Regions from separate parts of the Homo sapiens genome. Here all the other regions are linked to region 1. The links are contacts of gene promoters, found by promoter capture Hi-C in blood cells and fetal thymus (Javierre and others, 2016). All regions are on one chromosome and are shown on one strand. Each heading gives the region's core, a stretch centred on a gene start or on the middle of the fragment in contact. The rest is flanking DNA. Distances are from core to core; before and after follow the strand shown. Region 1 holds the start of KIF26B (kinesin family member 26B). Region 2 overlaps SMYD3 (SET and MYND domain containing 3). Region 3 overlaps SMYD3 (SET and MYND domain containing 3). Region 4 overlaps SMYD3 (SET and MYND domain containing 3). Region 5 overlaps SMYD3 (SET and MYND domain containing 3).

Region 1 (5,800 bases), core at 1,930-4,429:
TAGGACTGCCAAATATCAGCTACTAGATCTTTAAGAACCAAGGTCCTTCCATCTTTATCAGATGCTCCCATCCAGTTCAACAACCTCACAGCACCCTACATTCCCTCCACAAATGTGAAGACATTGTGAACTGTGCATTTTGTGGTTGTTATCTGTATCCTCCACTAGAATCTAAGCTCCACGTGGACAAGGACTGCATGAATGGACCTGGTATTTTCATTGCTGTGCCTGACACAGTGCCTCGGATGGAGTAGAAAATCAATGAATATTGATGAAGGATCACGAGAGCAAATAAATCTGTGAATGAAGAAACGGTGTTAAATCGGAAGGTCTAGCACGCAAGAGCGAAATAAGCTTTTTGATTCCTTGAGATGTATCCTTGGGATGTCACGGCAGATGTATCAAACTACAAAAACGGTACACTGACAACCATCCACGAGTTCATTATTCTTGAGATAAGTTCTGCATTCATAAAACCAATTCTCCTGGTGGTCATTTCCCCCATTTTAAGTTTCACAGCGTCTGTGGGCATTTGTTGAATTTAACCCTTGCCTATGAAAACATCAACGTGTGTATCTGCATACGCAGGTTGGGCCAGCAGACGCAGTCATTCCTAAACGCCTACTCGAAATCACAGTATTTCATTTCTAAAGTCACGGAAATAATAAACCAGAAATTGACGTTGAACCAACAGTGTCAAAAACCTCTACAGCAATCCACTCTATTTCCTTGATATTGCTCTCTAACCACTGATAAAAACTCTTTGAAGTGGCCGAGTAAATATGATCATTTGATAGTACTTGGACCCAACAGTGCAAATACAATCGCATTGCTATCCCCTGGGGGCTCGGGCCAGTCACACACTGCGGGCAGGGTTGCTATGGAGGAACCAGTGTGCTTGGCGCAGGAGCAGGCCAGGAGGGAGCACTGCTCCGAAGAGCCACCCGCCTCCGGATCTTCCTCAGACACACACACAGACTGAGAAGGGGAAAATGCTGGCTTTCGAGTATGTTTCTGTTTCTGCAACCGCGGAAAGGATGGACCACAAACAGGCAGTGGGAAATGCCAGCTCCGAGCATCAGCTTGCTTTTACAGCTCCCGCTGACATTTTTGTAAAGGATCACAGGTGGGGGTGGGGAGAAACATCGAAAGCGCAGCCTGCAGCCGCCAGGGAGAGCTGGGAGGGGGCGGCAGGAGAGACCACCTGGGGGCCTCCCCCGTGGGCCGTGAGGCCTGTGGCCACGGGCGCCCCTTCGCGCTCGGGACTCGGTCCTCCTGCCCCCCGGGCGGCCTGGCTGAGGAAGGGGCATGGGTCGCCCCGCGTGCTAGAGCCCCGTGAGGTGTGGAGCATCCCCAGCGCCGCCGGGGGCTCTCGCGTGGAGCCGGCGCGCAAGGTCGCGGCGGGCTGAGCAGCTGCTGTGGGTGGCGGCCCGGCCCCGCCCTCCCGGCGCCTCCCCAGCCAGCCCCGCGCGGCGCTCACCTTGCCCGGGAAGGGCCCCGGGAGGAGCAACCTCAGGGCCTGCCTCTTGAGCTCCACCAGGCGGGCGTTGCAGTTCTCGCACCAGACGCCGCGGTCCGAGCCGGGGGAGGAGCCGCCGCCGCTGCCGGAGCCCGGGGAGCCTGTGCCGAAGCCCGGAGAGCCGCCCAAGGAGCCCGGCGAACTAGTGCCGATGCCGGGGGAGGCGGGTCCCGGGGAGCCGGTGAACGAGCTCGGGGACGAGGTGCCCGAGCCGGGAGACGGGGTCCCCGAGGAGCCGAGCGCTGAGCCCGCGCCCTCAGGAGTGGGCCGGCTGCCGGCGCGCGACTCCTCGTATGCTTTCCGGTACCAGCTTTCCGGGGAGAAGGGCGCTGCGGGCTTGGTGGGCGAGCAGACTTCATTCACCTGCGGGGAAGACACGCCGGTGTCAGGGGCTGCAAGGCGGCGGGCTGCAGCGCCCAGGAGCTGGGTCATACGTGCGCCACCAAGTACCCGCTCGAACCGCCCACGGGAGTCGGTTGGGGACCTCTCCAAGCCCTGCGGCCAAATTGCCCTCCGTCTGTCTCGTTAATTGTCCTTAAGTGAGTCCCCACCGCCCAGGTGACCCCTGCGCTGGTCCCCGGTGGCCTCCTCCTGGGGTCAGGAAGGGGACTCGCTCGGGGCCGTTTCCACGGCTTCTGCAAGGCGGGGGGGATCCATAGGTTCAGCGCCCCACGCTTTTGAAGCCGGCACCTATCCCAGCAAGATCCCGGGAACAAAATCCTGGAAGACCCTATGGGGGGGGTAGGGGGAGGGCTGTGATTTCAGGATTTTTATTCATACGGGGTCCAACTCTCCGGATCCTGCAGGTAAACGAGAGGCTCTCACGGCTCCAGCTAAACGATCCGAGGTACTGCCCAGCATTCATGGGAAACCCTCCCCTTCGGCTTCACTCTGCCTAGAAGTGCAGGAATGCGGCAAAAGTTACGGGTGCGTGGAAAGGAAGGAACGAGAGGGCTGAAAAAATTCCGAGAGCGAGGCGAGCGTGCGGGCGTCCCCGCGGCCGACCCGCCTCCGCGCACTCACAACCCCGCCAGCCCCGGGGGCGCCTCTGCAGCGGGGGAGAGCTCGGGGCCGGGGCCGCACGATCCCGGGGAAAGGGGGACCTCCGCCGAGATGGGTCTGGTAACGCGTCTCCGCGTCGTACCGTCACAACTTACCCCGTATTTCTTGCCCCTGGTGGAGACCGCAAGCCTCTCTTTATTCCCAGCTACCGAATTCATGGTGGCTTTTCCAGAGGAGAGTATCTAAAGGTTCCACCGACGCTACATCCAGAAGGTCCTCCAACCCAGAAGCGTCCCCCGGCTGCAGGGGGCTGGCTCTCAGCCCTCAGGGCAAGGTTTCTTCAGCGGTGGGGTGGGAGGGAATGAAAGCAAATGGATCCCACAAGTAATAGCACCAATTTGCAGAAAGGGTTGGGGTCGCTGGTTTATTCTTCTCTTCAAAGCATGCTTTTCCTCGTCCCCTTCTGCCTCTTCCAGCCGCACGTCCTCTTGTCACGGCCACATCCACAGAACTGGCATTTTCTTCAGCCAAGTCAGTCCGTGCTCCCCCACGAGGAAAGCGAGGGATACAATCAGGGCTCGCGGCCGCTGCCGGGAAGGTGGGAGAGCCGAGCCGAGTCAGCTGTGGGAACTTGTCTCCTTCACCGAGCTTGGTAACTGAGTTCAAAGAAATTCTCCCAAAATATAAAGATCCAGACTCGGGGAGGAGCCTCGGCGTGTCGCCGAGCCAATATCCGCCGGCCCGTTTCGCCTGACAGTTGCGCGAGGGCCGGGAGAGGGGCGGCTCCGCGTGGCCCGGGAGCGGTCGGCGGTCACAGCGCGCGTGTGCGCCCGGGCGCAGCGCGGAGGAGCCTCGGGAACCTGCCGCCCTCGCCGCGCCGGCCGGGATCCATTTTATGTGGCGGCGCTCGTGCCTGACATTGCGAGGCCTGGAGCCGGGCTGGGGCTGGGGGCGGGGGATCGTCGATCTCGCCGCGTGCGGGGAAGTTCCTGGCGCGCGGCCCGGGCCCGGGGCTCTAATGAAACGCCGCTGCGCGAGCCTGGAGCCCGGGGGCCGCGCGAGCGAGCGTGGCTGGACGGAAATGCGGTGCCCCAGCCTCCCCCGCCCCCAAGTTCTTTCTCTTCCTGACAAGGCTTGCAGGTCTGTCTGTGAAACGCCGTGCAAAAGGGATTGAGTCACAAACAAGTCCACAAACATGCCGGGTCCTCCCCCCGCCCTTTGTTCTCGGAGAGCTGCCGGGCAAACCTTTTCTGGAATTGCCCTACCGACCCCGGGCCGGCCGGGGGGCCACCCTCCCCGACCGCAGCCGCAGGACTAGGGCCCTTGGTCCCCCGCCCGCCCGAGCCCCGGTCTGTGATGGACTAAGCCGCCCGGGGCTGGGACAGGTGAGCCTGGTGACCCAGCGGGCCGCTGCCGGGCAGGGGAAACTGAGGGCTTCGCCGCGCTGCACGCGGACGACTCTGGCCTGGAGAGGGGGTGTGGCGCGAGCTGGCCTTGGCCTCTCCTTGCGTGGGATCGGGCCCCTCGCCCCCCGCCGCCCGTTTCTTCCTGCGCCTGGGCCCCGCGGGGTCTCCGGAGCACCCCGTCATCGCTCCCTCTCCGATCGCCCCCCGCCCCAGTCCCCCGGCGCAGCGCCCAGGAGCGCAGGAAGCCGGCGTATGCCAGGCTCCACACGTGGCTGCTCTGGGGTGTCATTTTTCATTTCACGGGAGGACATTTCTTCTGGTGAGCCAGCAGGTCTGTTTTGTTGTGACCTTTAATTAACACCCCGCGAGACGCCTCTGGAAGGACTGGCCGGGCGCAGGGATCACGTGGGGTGTAACGGCATCTCCGCGCCCGCGGGGAGACCCAGCCCGGGGGTGGGCGAGGGCGCGAAGGACGTTCAGGGCTTTCTGGTCGCTGACTTCCTTCTGAGCTGTGGACGACGCAGGAGGGGGCAAGAAGACAAAGGTTCGGGGTTCTGGAAGCCTGGGGCCACGCCCCCACTCTGCCTTCCTCGGGGACAATTTCTTCTGTGCCTCCCGTGCTCTGCCCCACTCCTCCCCGCTCCAGCTCCTGCGCGGGAATATTTCACAGCCACCAAAGCGAGGTAAAAAGGTCAAAAGGAAGATGGCAAGAACAGAGTGGACGTTTCCGTTACGTTCCCACTTCCAATTTAAAAGCGATCCTATCAATAGGGGACCTTAGGGGGCAGGTACACCTCCAGGCAGCACGCGCCAGCTCCCACCCGCATCTGTATTTCGCGTAGGTGCCGCGAAACACATCATCGCCATTGGCCACGAGCCGCTTATCAGCCAAAAAGCAGCGTGTGGTGAAACGAGCCGGCGAGGCCGCGGGTGGGGAAGGTGGGGTGTCGAGGGGGAGTGTTGGGGAGCTGCGCGATCCACCTCGGAGACGGGGGAGCCCAGAGCTGCTCTGATTTGCATTTCTAAGTAGCTGGGGGCCCAAAGCGTGTTTGGTGGGCTCCGAGCGCCCTCTGTTGATTAAAGTTTATAACCGGAGGCTCTGCAAGAGTTTTTAAGAAGCTTTCAAAAATTGATGTTTATGTAAAATGTATATACATAAGATGAAACGCACACATTTTAATTGTTAAGTTCTATGAATTTTGACAAACGTGTACTCTGCGTAGGCCACCACCTCGATCAACATCTATAAATTCCTGTCCCTCTTGAAGGTTATCTACCTTTTCCCAGGCAATCCCCACCTCTCATAAGAAACTACTGTTCTGATTTCTATCAGCATGGGTTAGTGTGGACTGATCTGGAAGGGTTTTTAATTCATAGAATCCGTACAGCATGTACTCTTTTGGGTTTGGCTTTTTTCACTTAACACAGGTTTTTGAGTTTCATGTTGTTGCTAGTATGGGTCTGTTTTCTATCTCTACTCTCTTTCATTCTTCTGTCTCTCATGCCTTTTTTTGTTAATTGAATAACTTTTCAGTATTCCAGTTTCATCTCTCTGTTGACTTTTTAGCTCTGATGATTATAATATGGATTTTTTTTTTGAGGCAGGGGCTCACTCTGTTGCCTGGGCTAGAGTGCAGTGGCGCTATTATGGCACACGGCAGCCTCCATCTCCCAGGCTCAAATGATCCTCTCTCCTCAGCCTCCCTAGTAGCTGGGACTACAGGTGCACACCACCACACCTGGCTAATTTTTTTTTTTTTTAAGTAGAGACAAGGTTTCCCTGTGTTGCCCAGGCTGGTCTCAAACTCCTGAGCTCAAGCTGTCTTCCCGCCTCCGCCTTCCAAAGTGCTGGGATTATGGCATGAAACCACCA
Region 2 (5,800 bases), core at 2,008-4,507, 1.2 Mb before region 1:
TCGCTTGAGCTCAGGAGTTGGAGACCAGCCTGGGCAACATGACAAAACCCATCTCTACAAAAAATACAAAAATTGTGGTGGCTCATGCCTGTGGTCCCAGCTACTTGGGAGGCTGAGGTGGGAGGATCGCTCGAGCCTGGGAGGTAGAGGTTGCAGTGAGCCGAGAACGTGCCACTGCATTGCAGCCTGGGTAATAGAGCGAGACTCGGTCTCAAAAAAACGAAAAACAAACAAACCAAAACCAACAATACCCACTTAAATCTCAAGGTATGCAGATTTGAGGTGTGATAGTGTTTAACCTTCGGAAGTCTTTTAACCTGCTCATCATTGTCCTTCTGCCTGTCTCACCAGTTTGTTTTAAAAGTTATTTGCTGATTTGTCTCTGGTTACCTGTTGAATGACAATATGGTGCTGCCATGGCTTTACTTGCCTGCCTGTGTTTCTGAGCTCATCCCATATTTTCTATATACCAACAAAAATCTTCATCTATGTGACCTGGTTTTACTTCAGATTCGTCGTGTGCAGTGCCTAAACTCTGCCTTTTCTTCCGCACAGCATACTGCTTCTCCACCTTTGCTGTCTTCTCTCTTGACGTTGCAATCTCCTGAGCCAGCCGTGCCAGGAATATCAGGAATACCTCTGATTCTTCCCCCAAACTTCTGTATGCCCTGCTTATGCTGCTTTTAAAGATCTCTTGACTCTATTGTTTTATTTTTATATTGTTTTGTCACTGTCCCAGTTATTATTAAAATCCTTCCGATCTCACCTAAATGGCCTCTAACTCATATCCTTGCCTCTCACTGTTTCCCTGAGTCTCAATTCATTTTTATATTTTGCCATTAGAGATAATTGAAAAAAAACCCAGATTTGATCATTTAATCTCTTGCAAAAAGATGTCTGTTGATTCCCTACTGCCTTTGTATGAAATCAAGGCTTTTAAGTATGGCATTTGAGGACCCTGCAAGCTTCATCTCATGCCACGTTCCTGGAGCTGGCTGACTGCTTGCATAGACTGCAAGCAGCTTGAGGGTCGTAACCATTTTCCTAGCACCTGGTGTAGTGACAAGTAGATTGCGGAGATTCAGTGAGTGTATGCTTTTCCTCCATGGCTTGCATTATGCTTTCAGTCCTTCCCATTGTTGCATTGCCTTTATGCCTCCATTCCTTCACGTTGCATTGTCACTTACATTACGTTTTAGCTCCTTCCCATTGTTGCATTGCCAGTGTGTTTCTTCAAGCCACCAAAGCTTGACGATGCCTGCCGCACTGTTGCTATGACATTAGCAAACTAATGTCCATAGGGTATTTCTCTAGATATAGATGTCTGTAGGGTATTTTTCTAGATAGGGAATTATTTTTGAAAGGCTGGGTATTTTTGAACCAATTCGTAAAGCTGCTCATATACACGAAGGAGGGTCATGAAAGCAAATGACAATTCAGCAAGGCCTAGTTATGGCTGGGGTGTGTGTGCGTGTGTGTGCGCGCGTGCGCGTGTGTGTATGCGTGTCACGCGTGTGCGTGTGCGTGTGAGTGTTCAAGGAGGGTGGTTCCTAAGGCTAATGAGCTTCTACCTGTAAGTTATTCTGATTTGGTAGAAATGTAGCTTTGAATAATAATCATTAGCAGTAGCTGAGTGGGCTTGTGCTTTGTCAACACTGCTGAGTTTGATAATTAGATGATTACAAGGATGTGATGACATTTTGTAAATCCTTTCCTGGAGATATCTATATGAGTTTGCTAATCATTATGGCAGGCTTCTAGCTTTTCTTTAGAGCAATGATGATGCTACAAAGATTTTTTTTGTGCTGAAAATATTTTCCTTGTATCAGTAAGATTTGGATGATATTTGTCACTTTCTGCCACCTCAGAGTCAGCAAGGAGAATCTTGCAAAGTATTTAGCATTTTGTGGAAACAAGACATTATGTTCTGTATAGTTAAAAATTATCTTTTAGTTTATTGGAGTGGAAGGGCATTTTCTCCATGACAAGGAAGGTTTAAACTTGCATCATCTTGGTATTTAAAAGTTCTTTTGAAAACAACTCATGTTTTCAATTACAAAATAATATAGAGCTCTCAGTCAGTGTGATCATTCTATAGAGTGTGATCATTCCATAGGTCACATATTTACTAACAGTCTTCAGTATTAGTTGAGTAGGCTCTTTAAAGCCTTACTGTTAGGCCAGGTGTGGTGGGTCACGCCTGTAATCCCAGCACTTTGGGAGGCCGAGGTGGGTGGATCACGAGGTCAGGAGTTCGAGACCAGCCTGGCCAACATGGTGAAACCCCGTCTCTACTAAAAATACAAAAGTCAGCCAGGCGTGGTGGCACATGCCTGTAGACCCAGCTACTCGGGAGACTGAGACAGGAGAATTGCTTGAACTTGGGAGGCAGAGGTTGCAGTGAGCCAAGATCGCGCCACTGCACTCCAGCCTGGGTGACAGAGGTAGACTCCCTCTCAGAAAAAAAAAAAAAAAAAAAAAAAAGCCTTACTCTTTGTCCTTTCCCCTAAAACTCAGGATTCCTTTTCTTCTTCCAAGCTTTGCTCGTACAGTTTCTTCAGCTCTGCCTGGCAAATTTCGTTTAAACATGGTGCCTTTTCTAGGAAACCTTTCACAACTCTCTTAGACATGTCCATTAGGACAGGAATGGGAAAGCAGAAGTGTAAAATATAAGTGGGTAAGAGAAAGGGCAGCAACTTCCATTATTTTGCTCCTCCAGTTAGGTGCTAGTATCTTAAGCTGGCCATTTCATCACTAATGGGAAGAGCTAAAAGCTCCAGTCCATCAGGATTGAATGGCTGCTGAAAATGAATGTCAGTGTCTCACCTCCAGACATTTTGGAGCTCTTTTCTTCCAGTCTATTCGTGTCATTCTCTCTTTTCAGGTAGACTTGCCTCCGATTTCTCTTGTCCTCTATGAAGAATCAAAGGATTAATGGTTTCTGAAAAAAGCAGGTCTTGTTCATTGGAGCTGCCAAGTTACTAATTACTTCTAATTATCTTTATAGCAAAATGATAAACATAGAATTCAGTGCTGTATTGTACAGCAAATTTTTTTCCTGAAAACATTGCTTATAATGTTTATAAATAATATACCAGGTTATATTAACTAGGAAAATTTAGAGTTTAACAGGGTTCTATTATGAACCTTTTTGTGGAAGAAGATTTATTTTGGCAAGCTCATTGCTCTGTCTTAAAAACCTAGATTTCCTCATGTAGTGTCTGGTATTCCATAAAGTAAAGCTCATTTGCAGTCAGTTAAATCTTTTTCTTTTTTCTTTTGCAGAGACAAATCATTTTTTAAATGGAGTTCACCAGATTCTTAGGGCCTATTTGAACTTATATTTCTAGAATTGGGTGGGATCTGCCTTTCTAAATTATAATTCATAGGAAGAGTGCTATGGAATTGGCTAGTAAAGACTCTTGGCCGTGAAGGCAATGTCTCAGCAAGTGGCTTCCTCTTTTCTAAAACCTCATTAGTGTCCTTGGGAGCATTTCATTGATAAATACCTATCCCACAGTCCAGCTTGCTTTTTTCTGAATGTAATTTCAAAGCCCGGTAACTTCAGTAGATTTTTTTGATTGACCACAGTAGACACAGAGTATGAGAAACAAAATAGAATCCTCAAACTTTCTACCTGGTAAACAGAGGAAGTAAGGATAGTGTTTTCAGGGGCATTCATTTTCAGGCAGCCATTCAGTTCTGACATGTTTGATGTATTGGAGTTTTTGGTTATTCTATTCCTGTTTGTGGTGAACTCTCTAGTTCACTATACCTTCGTCTGGCTGGAGGAGTATGATAATCCAAGTGCCTGCTTTTATTTTCTTGTCTGCATGTATTTTATATTTCTGTTTTCCCATCCATGGCATAATGTGATCATGTATTTTGATAAATGCATTGTTTTGCTAGAATTGTAGCCTAGTCTGTGAAATGAAAATTAAATGAGAATTAAACTTTTTTTTAACAATTAAGCTTTTTTTAACTTTTTTTTAGTATTGCTAGTATTAAACTTTTTTTCACAATTAAAAAATACATATTGGTTTTGGAGGCACCTTTGATGTTCTACTAATTATATTAATACAGAACGGATGCTTCTTAAAAACTTTTAGTGCAAATAAGCTTTTAAAATCTTAGTATCTTAGGCACATAAGTAATTTTCATTTTTTAGATGGATAATAAAATCTTACTATCTTAGGCACATAAGTAATTTTACATTTTTTAGATGGATAATAAAATCTTACTATCTTAGGCCTGTGAGTCATTTTACATTTTTTAGATGGATACTAGTTTAGGTGCCCATTTTGATGTTGTTTTTAAAAATACTGACCTTACAGTCCTTTCCATCTTTATTTTTGAGTGACAGCAGAATCCCGAGTATAAGAAAATGTGATTAATTCTCCCATATTGAAGTCATTTAATCATGCTTTGCCTAACAGCTGCTTTCTATTCAGTACACTGAACATAAAATTCTGGAGTGCCTTTGTGCTATCATAAATTGTAAATGTGAACCATTCTTCCTCTTAAGTATCATATGGTATTGCTGTTTTGAATTTGTCAGTTTGGTAGGGGGTTTTTCTAGAGATTGCTGTTGTAGTCGGCTAGGAGGGCCTTCTTCTGGGACGAAACTCTCTCCCTCATTCTCTATATCACTGTGATATTTAGTATTATATTATTATAATATTTAGTATTATTTGTTTGCAGTAAAGAAGTGGGGGAAAATTGGTTTGACTTGTCATCCTTTTATTTCTATGGCATATTGAAAAAGTGGACAAATAGGGCCAAAACAAAGCAGTGGGATTCTTACTTGGCTCTTTTAGGTCAGAAAGAACCAGTTTAATAAATTTCAGTTCAACAAATTTGTACTGACTCTATTCACAGCACCATGTGGAGAAATAAGGATAATTAAGACTTCATTTCCGCCCTGTCTGGTAGGATAAATGAAAGAAATATATAAATAAATATAGTTATATTGAAGATTCGTTGAAAGCAAAACTGTGCTGCCTTCTTTTTGTAAATCTTGCTTTCCACGTTCAGTACATGGAGGTGCTCACAGTATTCTCCAGCAGACTGCGATAATGGTGATGCGGAGACCTAAGATGGAGATTTGGAGTGGGGAGATCATTTGATTTGGCCTTTAATGGAAGATACTGTAGGTGGAAGAGTCAGTGCTGACTTCCTAGAATTTAACAGTCACCATTGCAAATAGGCTACCGAGGTACCTGGAGTTGAGATTAGATCCTTGTGACTGGATGCCAAGGAGCTTCTTGCTGCTGGTTCATGCTTGACGGACGTGCCTGTTTTGGGTTAGGAGCAGTTGATTTCAGGTTTCCCCTGCAATTTATGCCTGGGGCTGTTCTAGTGAGCCTCACTTCCCTTTGTGAGCCCTCCTCGTGCTGCTTTCTCTTCCTGATAAGAATCCCCTAATTTGGCCGGGCGCGGTGGCTCACGCCTGTAGTCCCAGCACTTTGGGAGGCCGAGGCGGGCGGATCATGAGGTCAGGAGATCGAGACCATCCCGGCTAAAACGGTGAAACCCCGTCTCTACTAAAAATACAAAAAATTAGCCGGGCGTGGTGGCGGGCGCCTGTAGTCCCAGCTACTCGGGAGGCTGAGGCAGGAGAATGGCGTGAACCCGGGAGGCGGAGCTTGCAGTGAGCCGAGATCACGCCACTGCACTCCAGCCTGGGCGACAGAGCGAGACTCCGTCTCAAAAAAAAAAAAAAAAAAAAAAAAGAATCCCCTAATTTATGAGAGCAGGGTTCTTCAAATGGGAAACGTGGCTGTAGGCCTTTGTTTGTTTA
Region 3 (5,800 bases), core at 2,390-4,889, 1.1 Mb before region 1:
ACCGTGCCTGGCCAGGCTTTTAAATATTTTATAATTGAACTACATTTTCTTACCTCAGCCCATCTGGGGAAGCAGTTAAGTAAGGAATGTACATGATTGGACAAACTTACCCCTTAATGGTGCTTCTGTTTCTTGTAGTTTAAAGTCCTTGGGTAGCTTGTCTTTTTTTCAGATAAATGCTCAATTCTTTGCATTTTCCCCTCCTTGTCCTTCCATGGCAATGGGAGCAAGACTGCAGACTGGTCCTGATTCTCTTCTGCCCCAGGTGGTTGGTTTATCTAGTCTTGTGCCTGGACTAGCCTTAGCTTTTATTCTTGCCATCTCTCCACTCTGGGGAGTCTTAGTCTCTGCATTACCCCCACTGGGTCACAGGAAAGCTCAGGATCCACTGCATAACATACGCATGGGGCTGTAGGGGACCAGGAGGCCACTTCTGGGTTTTCCCTCCTGTTGTGTGTGGATCGTAGTTTTGAACCAAACCAGAAGCTTCTCTGTGGAGCTACGGTTCTAAATCCAGGCTGCACATTTGAATTACCTGATGGCGGAGTTCAAGACCAGCCTGACCAACATGGTGAAACCCCGTCTCTACTGAAAATACAACAATTAGCCAGGCGTGGTGGTACACACCTGTAATTCCAGCTACTTAGGAGGCTGAGGCAGAAGAATCGCTTGAACTTGGGAGGTGGAGGTTGCAGTGAGCTGAGATTGCACCACTGTACTCCAGCCTGGGTGACAGAGTGAAACTCCATCTCAAAAAAAAAAAAAAAAAAAAAAAAAAAAAGAATTACCTGATGGCATTTCAAAAACTTGCCAATGCTTGAGTTCCTGAGCCCAGACCAATCTAAGTGTCTGGGGGTGGGGGCCCCAGGCCGTGTAACGTTCCAAGGCCTTCCTAGGTGGTTCTACCCTGCAGCTGTGCTCATGGAAGCAAGGTGAGCTTCTCATTCCGTTTTCAGCCCTCATTTTAAAAATTAGTGTTTTAGGAATTTAGAAAGCACATTTTCTCTTGACAAAGCTTGGCTGTCAAGAATTTTGCTTGTTGACTGAAAATATTGATTTATAGGTGTCATAATTGAACACTGAGTCTTTCTCTTTGTATTCCTGTTTCCATAAACCTGAATATCCCGTAGGCAGATGGATGCCCCTGGCCAAAACAGAGACAGGGTCAGGTGTAAGGAACCACACAAAACCCCCCCAAATCTAATTACTATACTTCAAGAATAGTATTCCCAAAACTTGGTATTTCTATGTCCATCTTAGAGATGTGGTAATAGGCAAAGTGAGGTTTAGTATGACTTGCCCAAGGTCACCTAGCAAGTGAAAGAAACGCAATTTAAACCCAGCTTGTCCCCCTCCAACCCAGTTTGGACATAGCGGTAAGTTCTTCTGGAGTCCTAACTTAACAGATGGAATGCCAAACACATTTTTAGAAAACATAAACTATTAAATAGTGATTACATTCATGGGTTTTTACTACAAAAGCTTTTTAAATTTGTAATGAAACTGTAAAAGGAAATCTTTAGCTCATTGACCTAATTATTATTCCGAAAACTATATATATTAGAAAATATTTTCTAAGTTTAAAACAACTCTGGACTTTCACTAATGTTTTCTGATCAATTGATATTCATGAAATTCTAAAATGATTGTTGTTTTTTAAAATGTTATTTTAGGCTGGGCACTGTGGCTCACGCCTATAATCCTTGCACTTTGGGAGGCCGAGGCAAGTGGATCATTTGATGCCAGGGGATCAAGACCAGCCTGGCCAACATGGTGAAACCCTGTCTTTACTAAAAATACAAAAAATTAGCCGGTCCTGGTGGCGCACAACTGTAATCCCAGCTACTCGGGAGGCTGAGACATGAGAACTGCTTGAACCTAGGGGGCGGAGGTTGCAATAGCCGAGATTCCGTCACTGCACTCCAACATGGATGATAGAGCAAGACTGTCTCAAAAAAAAAAACAAAAAAAAAGATTTTTTTATTATATCTTGAGGTCATATATTTTCCAAAGATATACCACTACAGTTTTATAATGATGGTCAATGGAGAAAATTTCTCCACTTGAAATTTAGAATTCAAAAGTCTGATTATCAAATATTTGAGAGGCAGCAGACCTACGTACTCTTTAGTTAATAAATATTGAGTGTCTGGTATGTGCCATGCCCTATACTAGGTGGATATACAAAGATGAACAAAAACAGTGTCTCTGTATTACATTTATATTGGCAAGTCATTACTACATACAAATTTCTAAAAATTTTTAAAAAGACCTTCAGGGAGTCTGTAGAAAACTAGCACTAATTTTCTGAGAGTTTGAGTACAGAACTAATGTCAGTCTTGTGTTATACTCAGGAATTTTCATTGAGTGAAAACTTGAGGAAATAATTTGTATGATGAATTTTAAAGAAATTGGGACTTCCCTAAGACAGTGGAAAATATTTGTTTTTAAGAGGCATTGATGGGAGCTGTGTGGTGATTTGTGATTTGTCAGATTAAAAAAAAAGTGCTGTGTTTACCTATGTAACAAATCTGCACATCCTGCGCATGTATCCTGGAACTTAAAAACAAAAATTTAAACAAAAGTGCTGGCAAAGCAAGGTTTTGTTATTATCCTTTATTAAGCTTTTTGTGGGATGGAGGTTTTACTTTAGAATCAGAAACCTCAAGTGTCTTTCTCATATAATGACTTCTTTTCCTCTGGGTAGATACCGAGTAGTGGGATTGCTGGATGGTAGTTCTACTTTAGTTCTTTAAGGAATCTCCACACTGTTTTCCATAGTGGTTGTACTGGTTTACATTCCCACCAGCAGTGTAGAAGTGTTCCCTTTTCACAGCATCCATGCCAACTTCTATTTTTTTTAAATTTTTTTGGTTATGGCCATTCTTGCGGGAGAAAGGTGGTATTGCATTGTGATTTTGATTTTTGTTTCCCTGATCATTAGTGAGGTTGTGCATTTTTTCATATGTTTGCTGGCCATTTATATCTTCTTTTGAGAATTGTCTATTCGTATCCTTAGCCCACTTTTTGGTGAGATTGTTTTTTTCTTGCTAATTTGTTTGAGTTTCTTGTAGATTCTGGATATTAGTCCTTTGTTGGATGTATAGATTGTGAAGATTTTCTCCCATTCTGTGGGTTGTCTGTTTACTCTGCTGACTGTTCCTTTTGCCATGCCAAAACTCTTTAATTTAATTAAGTCCCATCTATTTATCTTTGTTTTTGTTGCATTTGCTTTTGGGTTCTTGGTCATGAAGTCTTTGCCTAAGCCAGTGTCTAGAAGGGTTTTTCCAATTTTTTTTTTTGTAGCATTTTTATAGTTTCAGGTCTTAGATTTAAGTCCTTAATCCATCTTGAGTTGATTTTTGTATAAGGTGAGAGGTGAGGATCCAGTTATTCTCCTGCATGTGGCTTGCACTCGCATGTTTGTACCAGCAGAGTTCACAATTGCAAAAATATGGAACCAGCCCAAATGCCCATCAGTCAATGAGTGGATAAAGAAATTGTGGTATATATACATGATGGAATATTACTCAGCCATAGAAAGGAATGAATTAATGGCATTTGCAGCAACCTGGATGCAACTGGAGACTGTTGTTCTAAGTGAAGTAACTGAGGAATGGAAAACCAAACATTGTGTGTTCTCACTCATAAGTGAGAGCTAAGCTATGAGGGTGCAAAGGCATAAGAATAATACAATGGACTTTGGGGACCTGGGGGACAGGGTGGAGGGAGGTGAGGGATAAAAGACCACAAATTCGGTTCAGTGTATATTGCTCGGGTGATGGGTGCATCAAAATCTCGCAAATCACCGCTAAAGAACTTACTCATGTAACCAAATACCACCTGTTCCCCAAAAACCTATGGAAATAAAAAAAAAAAAGGAAAGGCAGTTACTAGTCAATATCACTAGTAAACATGAGTTTTTAAAATCCTAAATAAAATATTAGCAACCTGAATCCAGCAAATAATTTAAAAGCAACATGACCAGATTGTGTTTTCTTCCAATAATGTAAGGCTGGTTTCACATTAGAAACCTATTAATACAATTTACCATACTCCCTTAAGGAGAAAAATCATTTGATTATCTCAATACAATCAGAAAAAGTAAAGAAAAATAAAAGAATTAGAGGCTGGGCGCGGTGGCTCATGCCTGTAATCCCAGCACTTTGGGAGGCTGAGGTGGGCGGATCACGAGGTCAGGAGATCGAGACCATCTTGGCTAACATGGTGAAACCCCGTCTCTACTAAAAATACAAAAAATTAGCCGGGTGTGGTGGCGGGTGCCTGTAGTCCCAGCTACTCAGGAGGCTGAGGCAGGAGAATGGCGTGAACCCAGGAGGCGGAGCTTGCAGTGAGCCGAGATCAAGCCACTGCAGTCTGGTCTGGGCGAAAGAGTGAGACTCCGTCTCAAAAAAAAAAAAAAGAAAAAGAAAAGAATTAGAAACCTCAGAGAATGGAAATTTTGCTCATGTTTCATGGTATTGAGAGAATTCACGTTGCTGACCTGGTAACCCTGAAGTGTTTAAGTGCTGCAGATGGTCAAAGGAAAGCTGAAAGATTTCGGAGCCTGCTGCTTTCTTTGTTCTGCGTTTGCAACACATTACCAGATGCTAGATGCAGAAGTACTGCAGCACTTGCCTGTTGGGAAAGCTTAATCTAACTGCTCAAGTAGCTGATATGCAGCATCTGACAGCCTGCTATGCCGTTTTGCAGCATACTCACCGGTGCTTTTGATATTGGCTCTGAGGAAGTACTTTTGGTTGCAAGTGACATGGCATGTACCTCTCCAGCAAGACTTCGTTTCTGAGAAATTCATGTAGTTCTTCTTTCATGAGTAATTTACCTTGTTTGATTTTTCTACTGGTTGATATGCTATTTTAGTCAAATATTAATGTGCTACATTTAAATGCTTGACTTCCTTTTGTTATTTTGAAATCAGTTATTAGGGTGAATGGTGTACCTGAAGGTTGTGTGTAACTCACAGTTGTCATGGGCTGTGAAAGCTGGCAAGTGCTGCAGTTTTTGTTTATGACTCGGTTGTGTCAGTGGGAGACAGAAATTCTAAAAGATACTGCAAGCAGATCCTGGTCGATTTCTGTGAGTGCTATAAGTTCTGGGAGAAATGATCTTGGGCTTTAGATGTTATCGCTGTGGCAATTATATTTCTTCTGGTCTCACAGAAGCAAGTGTCATTAAGAGCTTTAAATATTTGAAATTAGAACCATATGAGTTATTTTGAGACCTCTAGTTACTGTAATTAAACATACACAGGTATATATGAATGAGGACGTTATTTATGCATGAGCAAGGGAAGCTTTTCCATGGCTCTGATTATTGGCAGGCAGGGGTGGTGAGGAAGGAAAGCAAGATGGACACATCTGACACATTTAAAGCCCAGTTTAGCCAGAGTAAGGATTTTGAGGTCCTTTCTCTTTGTTCAGATTGCGAGTCGATGGTAGGACTTTGGGAGGGATGTAGCAAAGGGGATGTAATAATGGCAATAGCTCATGCTCATGAAACACATAGGTTCCAGGTAAAATGCTAAGCTCTGTGCATATGATCACTCACTGTTACACTCTTGGCAATGTTATTATCTCTGGCTTAGGAAAGTAGATGACATGCCCAAGATTACATTTGTAGAACTGTGGTGTGAACCCAAGCCACCCTGAGTCCAGATCCCAAAAGCTTGACCACTGTTTTATTTTCTATGGGGGGTTACATGCTCCCTCAGTAAGTTTTAGATTTTTAAGGTGCCATTGTTGAGCAGAAGAACCTTTAGAGCTCCTTATTTCTTTTGTGG
Region 4 (5,800 bases), core at 971-3,470, 1.1 Mb before region 1:
GGTTCAAAAAGATGCTCTCACAGGAGAAGGCTCATACAGGCTGGATGATGAGCTCATTATTAAGACATGTGATGGTCACTGGATCCCACAATATTTCTGACATGTTTATTCCTCTTGCTGATTTTCTGACTTTTTATTGTTGTTTTGTTTATACTGAGAGCTGCTGACATGTGAATATCCCAATAGCTATCATCCCTGAAAGATGTGCTTTTTAAGAATGAAGACTGCAGTTTTTCTGGAGTCAGCCTCTTGTCTCTTTCTCCTGGCTCACACTTCACAAAATGAGAATTTTTTCTTAAGACAAACAAACAACAACAACAAAAAAAACGAAGCAGAACTGGATATAGTGGCTCATGCCTATAATCCTAGCACTTTGAGAGGCCAAGGAGGGAGGTTTGCTTGAGGTCAGGAGTTCAAGACAAGCATGGACAAGAAAGTGAGACCCTGTCTATTACAAAAAAAAAAAATACAAAAATTAGCTGGGTATGTTGGCATACTCCCACATCCTAGCTACTTGGGAGGCTGAGGTGGGATCACTTGAGCCCAGGTGTTTGAGGTTACAGTGAGCTATGCTCACACCCTGGTACTCCAGCCTGGTCAACAGAGAAAGACCCTGTCTCGAAAAATAATAAAGATACACTGACCAGAAGCTTCAGTCTGATCCATTGTCAATAAAGAACAGTGCAAGAGCAATTAATATTTTACAAAATCAAAAAAGAAAAGCTAGCAGGATTATTTCATTAGCATGCTTCTCTTCATATGCACCTTTGATTTAAAAATCACTCTCCTGTAGTTTTTTATTTCTTCACAATTATCAGTTGGAAACTAAATTTGTTCATCTCGTAATAAGACTGATTCTGTATGCATCATAGAATTGCAAACATTAAGTAACAAAGTCCATGTAAAGTGTTTAGAACATAGCACTTAGTAAATAGTGGTTATTATTGTTGTCACTATCCCCACTGTCTTTCTTTGTAGATATTTACTTTCACCTTTTCTTCTATAGCAGAGCCACTAACAGGTAATAGAGAAGTAACTAGTTAGATCTTAGGAATTTAAGAAGCACTTCAAGATGTGGACAGAAAAGGATTTGGTTCAGATTGCATACTCTTAGGCTATGGAGATGGTACCTGCAATTCCCATAGAATGTGTATAAAGCACTGTATTGCATTAGAGGCCATGGGATTACAAAAGCTATTCTTTGTAAGACATCTTAGAATGTTGTTGATGTGTGAGAATAAAATCATATTGAAAAAATATAGAAAAGTTACCGTCTTTCATCAGTTCTAAGATGCAGGGTCTCACCATCTTGCCCAGGCTGGTCGTGAACTTCTGGGCTGAAGCCATCCTCCTACCTTGGCTTCCCAAAATGCTGGGATTATAGGTATGAGCCATTGCACCCAGCTAATTGTTTTTGTTTTAATCAATTACCATATTTTTAGCACTGCTGTGGCTTATGCTTTGTTCCTTTTTACTACTACTTGCTTTGAATGATGCTTAAAATGGACCCTTAGGAAGATGACTGTATTGAATTATTATATTCAGAACAATTGATATACTAATTTAAAAAGAATATACAGTCCCAAGTGATAGAATAAACAAGAGTTACTGCTTAGTATACAATAAATTTTGTATTCATTTGATTTCCCTCAGAAGTCTGTATTCGAAATCTGAGTTTCCTTCTATTTATATGTAGGTTACAAAGTTTTTAAAAAGGCAACAAAAAAAAAAACATTTATTTCTGCTCTTCTTAGGCAATATGGCCTTTTGGCTAGAACTCAGAAATTAAAAGCTTGATTTGTTGGTTGTGTAGGCATCTTATATCTAAGGAATTATTTTGGCTTAATTTGGGGATAAAATATTAATTACACCTAATAAGCAGAAATGTAATTATTTAAGACAGTTACTGTCTTACACATTTTTCACTTAAGATATGAAGAAGTGGTTAACGTAATTTCTTCTTCTGGGACTTAAAAGAAATGTTCAAATTAACCACTATTTAGGTTTGATCATGCCTTTGGAAGGAATTGGTATTATCCTTTGAAAATGAAAAGGCATAATTTGTTGAAGGTACATAGAATTGTACAAAAAGAAATCAGTAATTTTCCCATTTTTACTATTAAGTTATATCATAAGCAGCTATTTTGAATGACAGTATGAAAAAGTATGTTTGTGTTTTAAGGAGGCTGTTTTTGAATTAGGAAAGATAAATACGCTGGTATGAAGATCAGCTCATTCAGGAGCAGGCATTTTCCTGCATACTAAGGAGCTTTAAAGGTTAGACAGTAAAAAGAAGGTGATCATTATGTAGTCTGCTCCACCTCATGCCTACCAGAAAATTTATTTCCCAGCCTCCCTAACTTTTCTACTTCAATATACAGCTAACTGTTAATGAGCCCTAACTCTGACCTGGGTATGTGCCCAGGTCACATACATCCTGTCATTTAGTCCTCACCATAATCTCTGAGTGCACAGTAGATGCTGTTAGAATTATCTGTATTTTATAGTACAGAAACAGCCTCAGAAAAGTGAAATAACTTCCCTCAAAATAAGGTAGCTAGTAAATGGCAGAGCTAACATTCAACCTTATCCATGTCTGACTACAAAGTAATCCATCCATTACTTACCTTTTTTCATGGTAAGCTTTTGCTTTTTGGTCAACACTATGCATTGTGCCTTGAGTACATGTACCAACATTGGAAGACCATTCCCATGTGATATTTGTAATAGAATTAGGTATTCAAATCACGCATTCTTGAGACAATTAAAGAATGTAGGATTTATTTACATACAAAGTTGAGAGAATGTGCATCATGCTGTGTCAGGCTTCCTTTCCATGATTCTGTTAGTTTTCAGTGCAGGTATTTGCCACCTGACTTGGGTTTCCTAGATGTCTATAATCAATGAAATATTTTCTCTTTTGAAAAACTATTTTTAAAATACATGTTTTAACAGTGTTGAATTACAAGATGTTTTAAGATAATATAAACCTGGACCCAAATTTCTATGTAAATGTTTATTTTATAGAGACAAGTAAATTAACCAAATAATTCAGTGAATCTTCATTGAGAACCTAATATGACCTAGGTACTGTGCTAGGTGTCAGAGACCGGCTATATGGTTTAGTAGAAAGAGAAATGGTAGACGCTGTGCCAAGCATAGTGCCTGGAACAAGCAGAAAGTCCATAAGAAATATATGTTAACTGAAAGGAAGAACAAAATGGAAACTGTGTCTGTCTGAGTCACCCAAATTAGTAATGTCTGTGAGTTTATTTCCTCATCTGAAATGAAGGGTAATAAAACCTACCTCAGAAGGATTGTTGTCAAGATTAAACGAGTTAAGATATGGGAATATGTCCAGAACTGTGTTTGGTACATATTAGATGTTTAATAATTGTTAGTCATAGTGCGAAAAATAAGTAACACATTATTCCCATTCTCAAGCAATGTCAAGATTTAAAATCGGATTCTTATCCACCATATCGTTAGACTTCAGTTGCCTTGTTCTTCTATTTGCTTTATTCTGCCTGAGCTTCACTAACAATCCACAGGGCTTTTGGACTCTACAAAGAAAACACACACACAAAAATATCATACACTCTTCTATATCTACTCACATCTGCACTCAAATTTAATTCTGTTCTGTGAAAAAGAAAATCGGCACAAAGTTATTGCTTAATACTGTCAAATACTTTTTAAAATTAGTTGCCCTCTGTAACAATAGGAGAGCATGGAAGAATAAACAAGCAGCAGAATGATGTCAGAGAAACTTTGGCCACAGAAGGAGATCAGTAGGTATTGGAATTTGAACAGCTTATTTTTCACTTACTTCTATACACAATATGGATCTTACAGATTTATTGTAACTTTTTTCTCCGATTTAAGAATTGCCAGAAATAAAGCTGAGTGACAAGAAAAGGATGTGTGTACATGAGACAGAGGGCGCTGTTTATGCCCATCTGTACAGAATGTCATTCGTTTTAAATATGATTTTCCTCTTTTTCCTCACAGAAAGAGAAAATGGTATATTTCTCCTTCTATGCAACAGAGAACTGATTTTTTTTTTAAATTCTTATTACTGTTTTTTTTTGAAGTATAATAGAAACAAAGCAGTGTTTTTCTTTGTTAAGGTCAGTTCATGTTTTAGTAATGTGTCTTGAGCTTTCTGTATTTTCTGAGCTAACCATTTAAAAAATTTTGACTTCTACACCAATTATTTTATGTGTGATTGTTTAAATTCTATGGGTCTTGTTGATGACCTTCCTATATTTATTGTCATTGAAAACATTCAATATGTAAATATAATAAACGATTATATCTTTAAGAAAATAAAAGTTTTCTAAAATTAAATGTGAATTATCATTAAAGCATAAAATGCTGTGACTATAAGGTAACATTAAAAAAAAAAAACAAAGAGAGCTGGGTGCGGTGGCTCATGCTTGTAATCCCAGCACTTTGGGAGGCTGAGGAGGGTGGATCCTGAGGTCAGGAGATCGAGACCATCCTGGCTAACACGGTGAAACCCAGCTCTACTAAAAATACAAAAAATTAGCCAGGCGTGGTGGCGGGCGCCTGTAGTCCCAGCTACTTGGGAGGCTGAGGCCGGAGAATGGTGTGAACCCAGGAGGCGGAGCTTGCAGTGAGCTGAGATGGTGCCACTGCACTCCAGCCTGGGTGACAGAGTGAGACGCCGTCTCAAATAAACAACAACAACAACAACAACAACAACAAAACCCAGAAAGAGATGACTTCCAGCCAGAAGGCGAGACTCTGTGGGAAAAGCCTTCCTTCTAAGGGGAGGGTTTGGGCTGCTATTTTTCTTACTTTCCTTGAGAGCAGCTTCAGGACTGTACTTGGGTCACTCTACAAGCTGTTTCCTTTATTTTTTCTCTCTCAACAAAGATTTACCTGTCCATTTATAAAGTGCAGATTGTTTCTCTAAGATGGCAGATAAGAGGCTTGTAGCATGCCTCAGCCACTTGGAAATGGCTAGATAGTGCATGAAGATAAACTGTATGAGCTTTTTTTCAAGAAGGAAAATGGGGCTGGGCGCAGTGGCTCACGCCTGGTAATCTAGCACTTTGGGAGGCTGAGGCGGGTGGATCACGAGGTCAAGAGATCGAGACCATCCTGGCCAACATGGTGAAACCCCATCTCTACTAAAAATAGAAAAATTAGCTCTGTAGGCCCAGCTACTCAGGAGGCTGAGGCAGGAGAATCGCTTGAACTTGGGAGGCAGAGGTTGCAGTGAGCCAAGGTCGGGCCATTGCACTCCAGCCTGGTGATAGAACAAGACTCTGTCTCAAAAAAGAAACAAACAAACAAAAAACAACAACAACAACAACAACAAAAGGAAAATGGGAATCCACTGGAATCGTGAGGGACACCCAGATCCTGGTGAGCAGAACACTGGCAAACAACCTCTGCGACAGTGTCTGGTGGATAAAAAAGATCCTGGTGTAGGGAGGCCCTTTCTGCTTTACACCTAGGCAGATCTCCAGGCATTTGGAGCACCTGCTTATCTGGTTCAGCAGCCTGAGCCACGCAACTCTTCCTGTGGGACAGTGGGACCCTCTCTGCTCTAAGCCCAGGCAGGTCTGCAGGCATTTGGAGCACAAGCTTACTTGGGTCAGTAGCCCGAGCTGCTCCATCCTTCCCGTGCAGAGATCCTCATATAGGGGGACTCTCTCTGCTCCATGCCCAGACAGATCTCCAGGTATTCAGAACACCTGCTTGCCTGGTTCAGCAGTTCGAGTCACCCTACCCCTTTTATGCAGAGATCTTGGTTCAGGGGGAGCCC
Region 5 (5,800 bases), core at 1,811-4,310, 1.1 Mb before region 1:
CCATGAGGTAGCAGAAATCAATGCTAAAATGGCAGAATGAAACGGTATAGCAAATAAAGTCAATGAGCTGTCAAAGAATTTTTCTTCATCAAACAAATCCCAAAGCACTGGTGTTATACTGACCTTCCCTCACTCCTCTTTCCTGGATTCTTAGACCAATTTGGTTCATGATTTTTTTTTCCTATAATAGAAAAATTAACAAACATGTTTGGTCAGTGAAACAGAAGGTATTTGAAAATGATACCTTGGAGCAGTGTCTCAATCTTCAGGAAAATGGTGAAGAGGAAATACAGCATTGATTGCTGTTGCTAAGCAACGGCTTTCACAGCAGACGCGCCTGGGACAGTGGTGGTGTCTGCCAGCACACCATGCGGGGCCGAAAGCAGTGCAGCACTCATGTTTCTGCGAAATCAGAATTGAAGCCCTGCATTTCCTCCTTCCTCTCGACTTTCTCTGATCAATACCTGAGAAGTTAAGATCGTACGGTCAAATATATAGACTGTGAGAAATTTGGAGCACCTTGGGGATTTTTGGAGAGCTGCGAATGGATTTGTAGAGCCAATTCTGTTTTTTTTGTTTTTGTTTTTTTTTTTTTAGTTTCGCCCTTGTTGCCCAGGCTGGAGTGCAGTGGCACAATGTCGGCTCACTGCAACCTCCGCTTCCCGGGTTCAAGTGATTCTCCTGCCTCAGCCTCCTGAGTAGCTGAGATTACAGGTGCCCGCAACCACGCCCAGCTAATTTTTGCATTTTTAGTAGAGACGGGGTTTCGCCATGTTGGTGAGGCTGGTCTTGAACTCCTGACCTCAGGTGAACCACCCACCTCGGCCTCCCAAAGTGCTGTAGAGCCAATTCTAAAGGAATCAGAATTCCTATTTTATATCAGAAGTACTGTTAGTTTTCTCCTTCATGCATTTATCCATCCAGTCATGCCTATGTTCTCACATATTTAGGGAATATTCAAGGCACCCTGTTACACTTAAGAGCTTGGCATCTCTTACGTTGCTGACATGTGCACTATGCGTGTGATGGTAGGCACCATTGCTGCAGGGTGGTGTAATGGAGAGCATCCTCTTAGGACTGTGACTCTCAAACTTTAGGGCACATTGGAATATCCTGGGCAGATCATTAAAAGCTTTCTCAGCCCCACACTTGGTGAGGTCTGTTACCTATTTCCAGACCTCTGGAATATGTCCTGTTACCTGAGGTCTGGAAAGTAACTTAGGAATATGCATTTTAAACAGGCTCTCTAGGTGATTCTGATATTGGTAGTAGAAGAGCCATTCTTGAGAAATACTGAAGTCGAAGAATTAGTGAAGATTTGACAGAGTTACCAGATAAGATGTCATTTGTCAGTTGTAATTCATGAACGGGGAGGCTACTAACTGTAGTTTTACCTGTTCAGTCTGTTCCCTCCCAGGTTGCCTCTCCTGTGTTTCCATCTTGGACTTGCTCTTGATTCACTAGAGTCAGACTAATTTGAGTTCTTTCCAGAAACTGGAATGTGATTATTCCTTAGTGGGGAGGGGTAGCCCCCCATCACTGCTTGGGACTCATGCAAGAGCAAGAAATGCAAGTATACAAAAGTACCCAAGTCTTGATCTCAGTGTTCTGCAGTACAAACCACTAAGACGGAAATTTCAAACTGCCTTTCACTGAAAACAAAAAGCAAAAGAACAAGGAAACATCTAAATCAACCAGTTACCTTTTTTTTTTTTTACCCCAATGCTGATAATATTTCAGTGGTCTGTCAGTTATGAATCTGACCAGTCCTTTAATAAAATCTTCTATGCTTATAAAGCTTAAGTGATTTTTGCTTATACAGTCTTCTAATAGATAACTCTTTTTTTCCCCCTCTTGTTATATATACCCTGAATCCCAGTTTTGGTCTTAATGCAGACCATGTTTAAGATCTTGGCCTTATGCCATTTTGTAGTACAGATAAATAATTAATGGTTTTTATTAGTTTGTATAATTCATTAACCATTCATCTATCAAGCTGAATGACTTATAGATGGCTTTTACATTTCAAATTGTTCAGAAGTTATTAAGGTCTGTAATTTATCATCACAGCCATTTCTGACCTCGTTCTTGGTCCCTCACTGGAATGATGTTCATTGAATGTGTATGACACAATATGAAGAAAATTAAGTTGCACTAAAGACATTACCAATATGAGTAGGGAGGCTTAAAATGTTGGCAGTAATCAATAGTGGGACTTAATTTGTATATTCTGTGATGGAGACATTTTTATTACATTTATATTTTTAAAATTGATTCCATTTTTAAATTAGTTGCCCTCATTTCAGACTATACTCAACAGCGAAATAATATATTTTCTGAATCTAAATCATCATATATTATTTGACCTTTAGCTGAATCCAGTAGTAAAGATCAAAATGAATTATGCTTGAGTGGAAAGAGGTTTTAATGTTGCTTTACACTTGGTTTTCCCCCATTCCACATGCTGTTTAATATTATTGATTCAGCTTGAATGATCATGAGCCCAAAAACTACTTTAGTTGGTTTTGGCTAATGCATTCTTGGATGCTATGGAAGTGCCTGTAACACCTGAATGGTTCTGCGTAAATAGTCACGCATTTTTATACCGTCCACGAGAGGACATGCAACGTGATTGCCTATGAGCAGCAGAGAACAGTTTTCTAGACGTATGTTTTTCCCTTGGTACAAACATGTAGCTTCCGTTAGCCCTAATAGGAGCTGCGTGTTTGCATCTAAGAATTCAGTATTTAGAATATGACAAGCAGTGAGTATTTGAGGAGTTATTACTGAACCTTTCAAATAAGTTGAAAGGCAGACATGATTTTGAGTACTGGGGAAGTGTATTAATCCCTTAGAAGTGAACTATTCAGAATATTTAACTCTATTATCATGAAGTGTTAGTGAGTAGGGAACTATCCACATGTCTAGATTCCTTTCAGCTTAATAGTGTCTCCATACATTTTACAGTCATATCAGCTCCTCGTAATGCACTTCACCACGTGAAGTGAATGAAATAGCCTCAGTCTTGTTCACAATGACTGGGCCTTTCAAACTCTCCTTATTTAATTTGCTGGCATTATGATGGCTCTTGCAGGACCTCTGTTGCAGAATCAAAATGTGCATGCAGAGAGACAGCTGTGCTTTGATTTAGCCTATGAGATAATAACTATCATTCTAAAATTGTCTTACATCATATAGACACAAATTTCAAATCTCACCTATTTTCCCAGCTCTCTCTTCAGATATGACTTTGCTAGAATGAGGCATATTCTTCCTTGTCACTCTTCATTTTTAAAAAAATTTTGAGAATGTAGATTTACTTCTACTCTGGCAGTTTGCACATCTTGGTTAACTAGACCAATTAATGCAAAAGAATAACCCCCAAATTTACTGCTCCCCAGGTTATTGTCCAGTCCCTGTCTCTTATTAATGTGATTCCTGTGAAAACTTGAGATTGAAGAATATAGTGAAAAAGTACCATCTACCCCAAAAGCAAATCTAAAATGAGAAAACTTTCTTAAGCAAATTCTCCCCTACCAGGCACATGTGATTTATTTTTCTTCCTTCCACTTAGAATTGAAAAAACATGATTCATATCCCATCGTTGTTATAATTTTGTAGACTTCAGAGCTTTTCTTTTTTCTTTTCTGTTTTAGTTAAGTTGTACGTTTCTTTGTATGTCCTTTTGTCTTTTACTGTTTGTAAGTGTCCTTGATAGATATTACCATAATGGCCCTTTCCTTTAGCTTATACTCCTATGTTATGATTTGTTTTCCACATCACCTTTATTTAGTAACTCCCAGTCCATTGACCTTTTTCACTCCTTATGCTGTATTTAGATGGAAATAAGATGACACGTACCAGTTCCATCTTGGAGCGCTAAGAGATCTTCAGGCTCACAAACTAAGATTAACCTACTAACATGGGCCACTGATAACGATGAAAACGTGGAAGGAGAGGCAGTGTAAGTAAAAGAGAAACCTGCATCCAGACAATAAGTAATGAGGATCTGATGGTGATAAAGATGAATTTAAAAGACAGGAGTAAACATATGAATGACCTACACACAAGAATTCAGATTTTCTGATGTTTTATGTGTGGTACAGCCTATTCATAGAGAATAGGTGTGTCAAATAACACATATTTAATTTTTATATCCAATATCCAGTATCTTTATAGAAGTGACTACTCATTATTATGTTCATTTTAGGTAATCTGAAGTCCTAAAACCTGCCTTATACGTTTGGCATAGAATTGTGTTCCCTGGTAATGCCCACTAATGAAATGTTTAGGGAACTCAACTGTGTTCCTTCAGAAGCTTCTGAGTCTGCCATCACTTTCGGTGAATCAGTGCTTCTGAAAAGTGAATTCAATAATTAATACGAGTTATTTTTCTGTGAATTTAGCTTTTTACAGTTGTTAAATCAGCTGAGCTGTTATACAGTTTATAAAACTATATTAAAATTTAATATGATTACTCTAAAGTGGCTAAGGTTTTAAAGTTTTCCCAACTTTTTCAGAGCTTTATTAAAGCATTAAATATAAAGTGCTCTCTTAGCCACAGTATGACTAGTTATTTATTGGTTAGAATGACAAATCTACTTGTCTGAGAAGATGCTGAGTTAGAAGTTCTGTTCAGACAGTCCCCAAATTGCCTTTATGCAGCACAGTGGATAAAAATCTGAAAACAGAATTGGTTATTGATTTTTGTTTTGCATTGGTAGCAAGAGAAGAATAATACTGTAACTTTTTTTTCAAGCATACAAGTTCTGTACATAATTTTTCTCTGTCATTTTTGTGTGGCTTTTGGTACCACTAGAACATTCCATATGACCCTAACTCTATTTCTTATATTTCTGTGAGATTCTTTGAGTCTAAATACCTCTTTATTACAAGTTTCTTTACCCATGGGATTCCTGTTGCTTTTACTTAAGAGATAGCCCAGAACTCCTCTTACATTCTTTTCAGAAGTGTTCATGTTGGTTTATGGTAGAATAGATTTCAATGTAGGTTTCCCTTCCTTCCTTCCTTCCCCATTTTGATGTTTAGTTATATGTCATCTGGATTAATTTGTTTTTCTTTTTTTAAATTTATTTTAGGCTTAAGTTGTATCTAGATTTTTATAAAATACATTTTAAGACTACTCTTTTTTCCCTAGTATTTCCACATCTAATTGAAGTTGTCCTAAAAACAGTGGAGGAATATTATTTTATTCAATATTTTCTATAGAAAGCCCGATCCTTGCCACACATGCAGCATCAGGGAAAGCCTCAGCTGAGACGTGGAAATTGAAGACAGCATGATGGGTAATTCATCACACCAGTGAATTTAGTATTTGTTCACCCTTTTATAGGCTTTAATATTGTGATCCCCACTTTACATATGAGGAAGTGAAGATTTAGAAAAGTTTAGTAACTTGCCTTAAGAGTGTAGCAGAACTGGGAAGTTTGCTCTTGTTGTTGTTGTCTTTGTTGTTTTTTGAGGTGGCATCTCTCTCTGTCACCCAGGCTGGAGTGCAGTGGCACGATCTCAGCTCAATGCAACCTCGCCTCCTGGGTTCAAGCGATTCTCCTGCCTCAGCTTCCCGAGTAGCTGGGACTACAGGCGCTCGCCACCATGCCCAGCTAATTTTTGTATTTTTAGTAGAGACGGGGTTTCACCATATTGGCCAGACTGGTCTCAAACTCCTGACCTCACGATCTGTCTGCCTTGGCCTCCCAAAGTGCTGGGATTCCAGGCGTGAGCCACCACGCTGGGCCGGAACTGGGAACTTTTAATCTAGTCCTGTCTAATTCCTGTT

Evidence for each region. The method cuts DNA at HindIII sites, captures the fragments that hold promoters and counts their contacts. A CHiCAGO score of 5 or more calls a contact.
Region 2: a fragment that was not itself captured here is called in contact with the fragment with the promoter of KIF26B in region 1 in 1 of 17 cell types (megakaryocytes); the score reaches 5.6 in megakaryocytes.
Region 3: a contact is called between a fragment that was not itself captured here and the fragment with the promoter of KIF26B in region 1, in 2 of 17 cell types (megakaryocytes and M2 macrophages). The highest score is 11.3, in megakaryocytes.
Region 4: a fragment that was not itself captured here is called in contact with the fragment with the promoter of KIF26B in region 1 in 6 of 17 cell types (endothelial precursors, M0 macrophages, M2 macrophages and 3 more); the score reaches 10.4 in endothelial precursors.
Region 5: a fragment that was not itself captured here is called in contact with the fragment with the promoter of KIF26B in region 1 in 1 of 17 cell types (monocytes); the score reaches 6.3 in monocytes.

Annotation. Positions count from the first base shown.
Region 1 is chr1:245,152,364-245,158,163 of GRCh38, reverse strand. It overlaps KIF26B (kinesin family member 26B), which reads right to left and starts at 3,179. Exons shown (of 15, transcript NM_018012.4): 1 at 2,677-3,179; 2 at 1,481-1,882. The coding sequence starts at 2,739. RefSeq lists silencers at 1,231-1,770, 3,638-3,837 and enhancers at 3,692-4,367, 4,368-5,043. The HindIII fragment of the contact is 4,692 bases long and covers 357-5,048 here.
Region 2 is chr1:246,307,346-246,313,145 of GRCh38, reverse strand. The region is part of intron 5 of SMYD3 (SET and MYND domain containing 3); the gene reads left to right. Among named protein-coding and RNA genes, the nearest start is that of SMYD3-IT1, 12 kb to the left of the region's middle. RefSeq lists an enhancer at 5,098-5,800. The HindIII fragment of the contact is 1,434 bases long and covers 2,541-3,974 here.
Region 3 is chr1:246,283,044-246,288,843 of GRCh38, reverse strand. All of the region lies in intron 5 of SMYD3 (SET and MYND domain containing 3), which reads left to right. Among named protein-coding and RNA genes, the nearest start is that of SMYD3-IT1, 36 kb to the left of the region's middle. The HindIII fragment of the contact is 2,026 bases long and covers 2,627-4,652 here.
Region 4 is chr1:246,259,974-246,265,773 of GRCh38, reverse strand. The region is part of intron 5 of SMYD3 (SET and MYND domain containing 3); the gene reads left to right. Among named protein-coding and RNA genes, the nearest start is that of SMYD3-IT1, 60 kb to the left of the region's middle. The HindIII fragment of the contact is 851 bases long and covers 1,795-2,645 here.
Region 5 is chr1:246,205,499-246,211,298 of GRCh38, reverse strand. All of the region lies in intron 5 of SMYD3 (SET and MYND domain containing 3), which reads left to right. Among named protein-coding and RNA genes, the nearest start is that of SMYD3-AS1, 100 kb to the right of the region's middle. The HindIII fragment of the contact is 2,520 bases long and covers 1,801-4,320 here.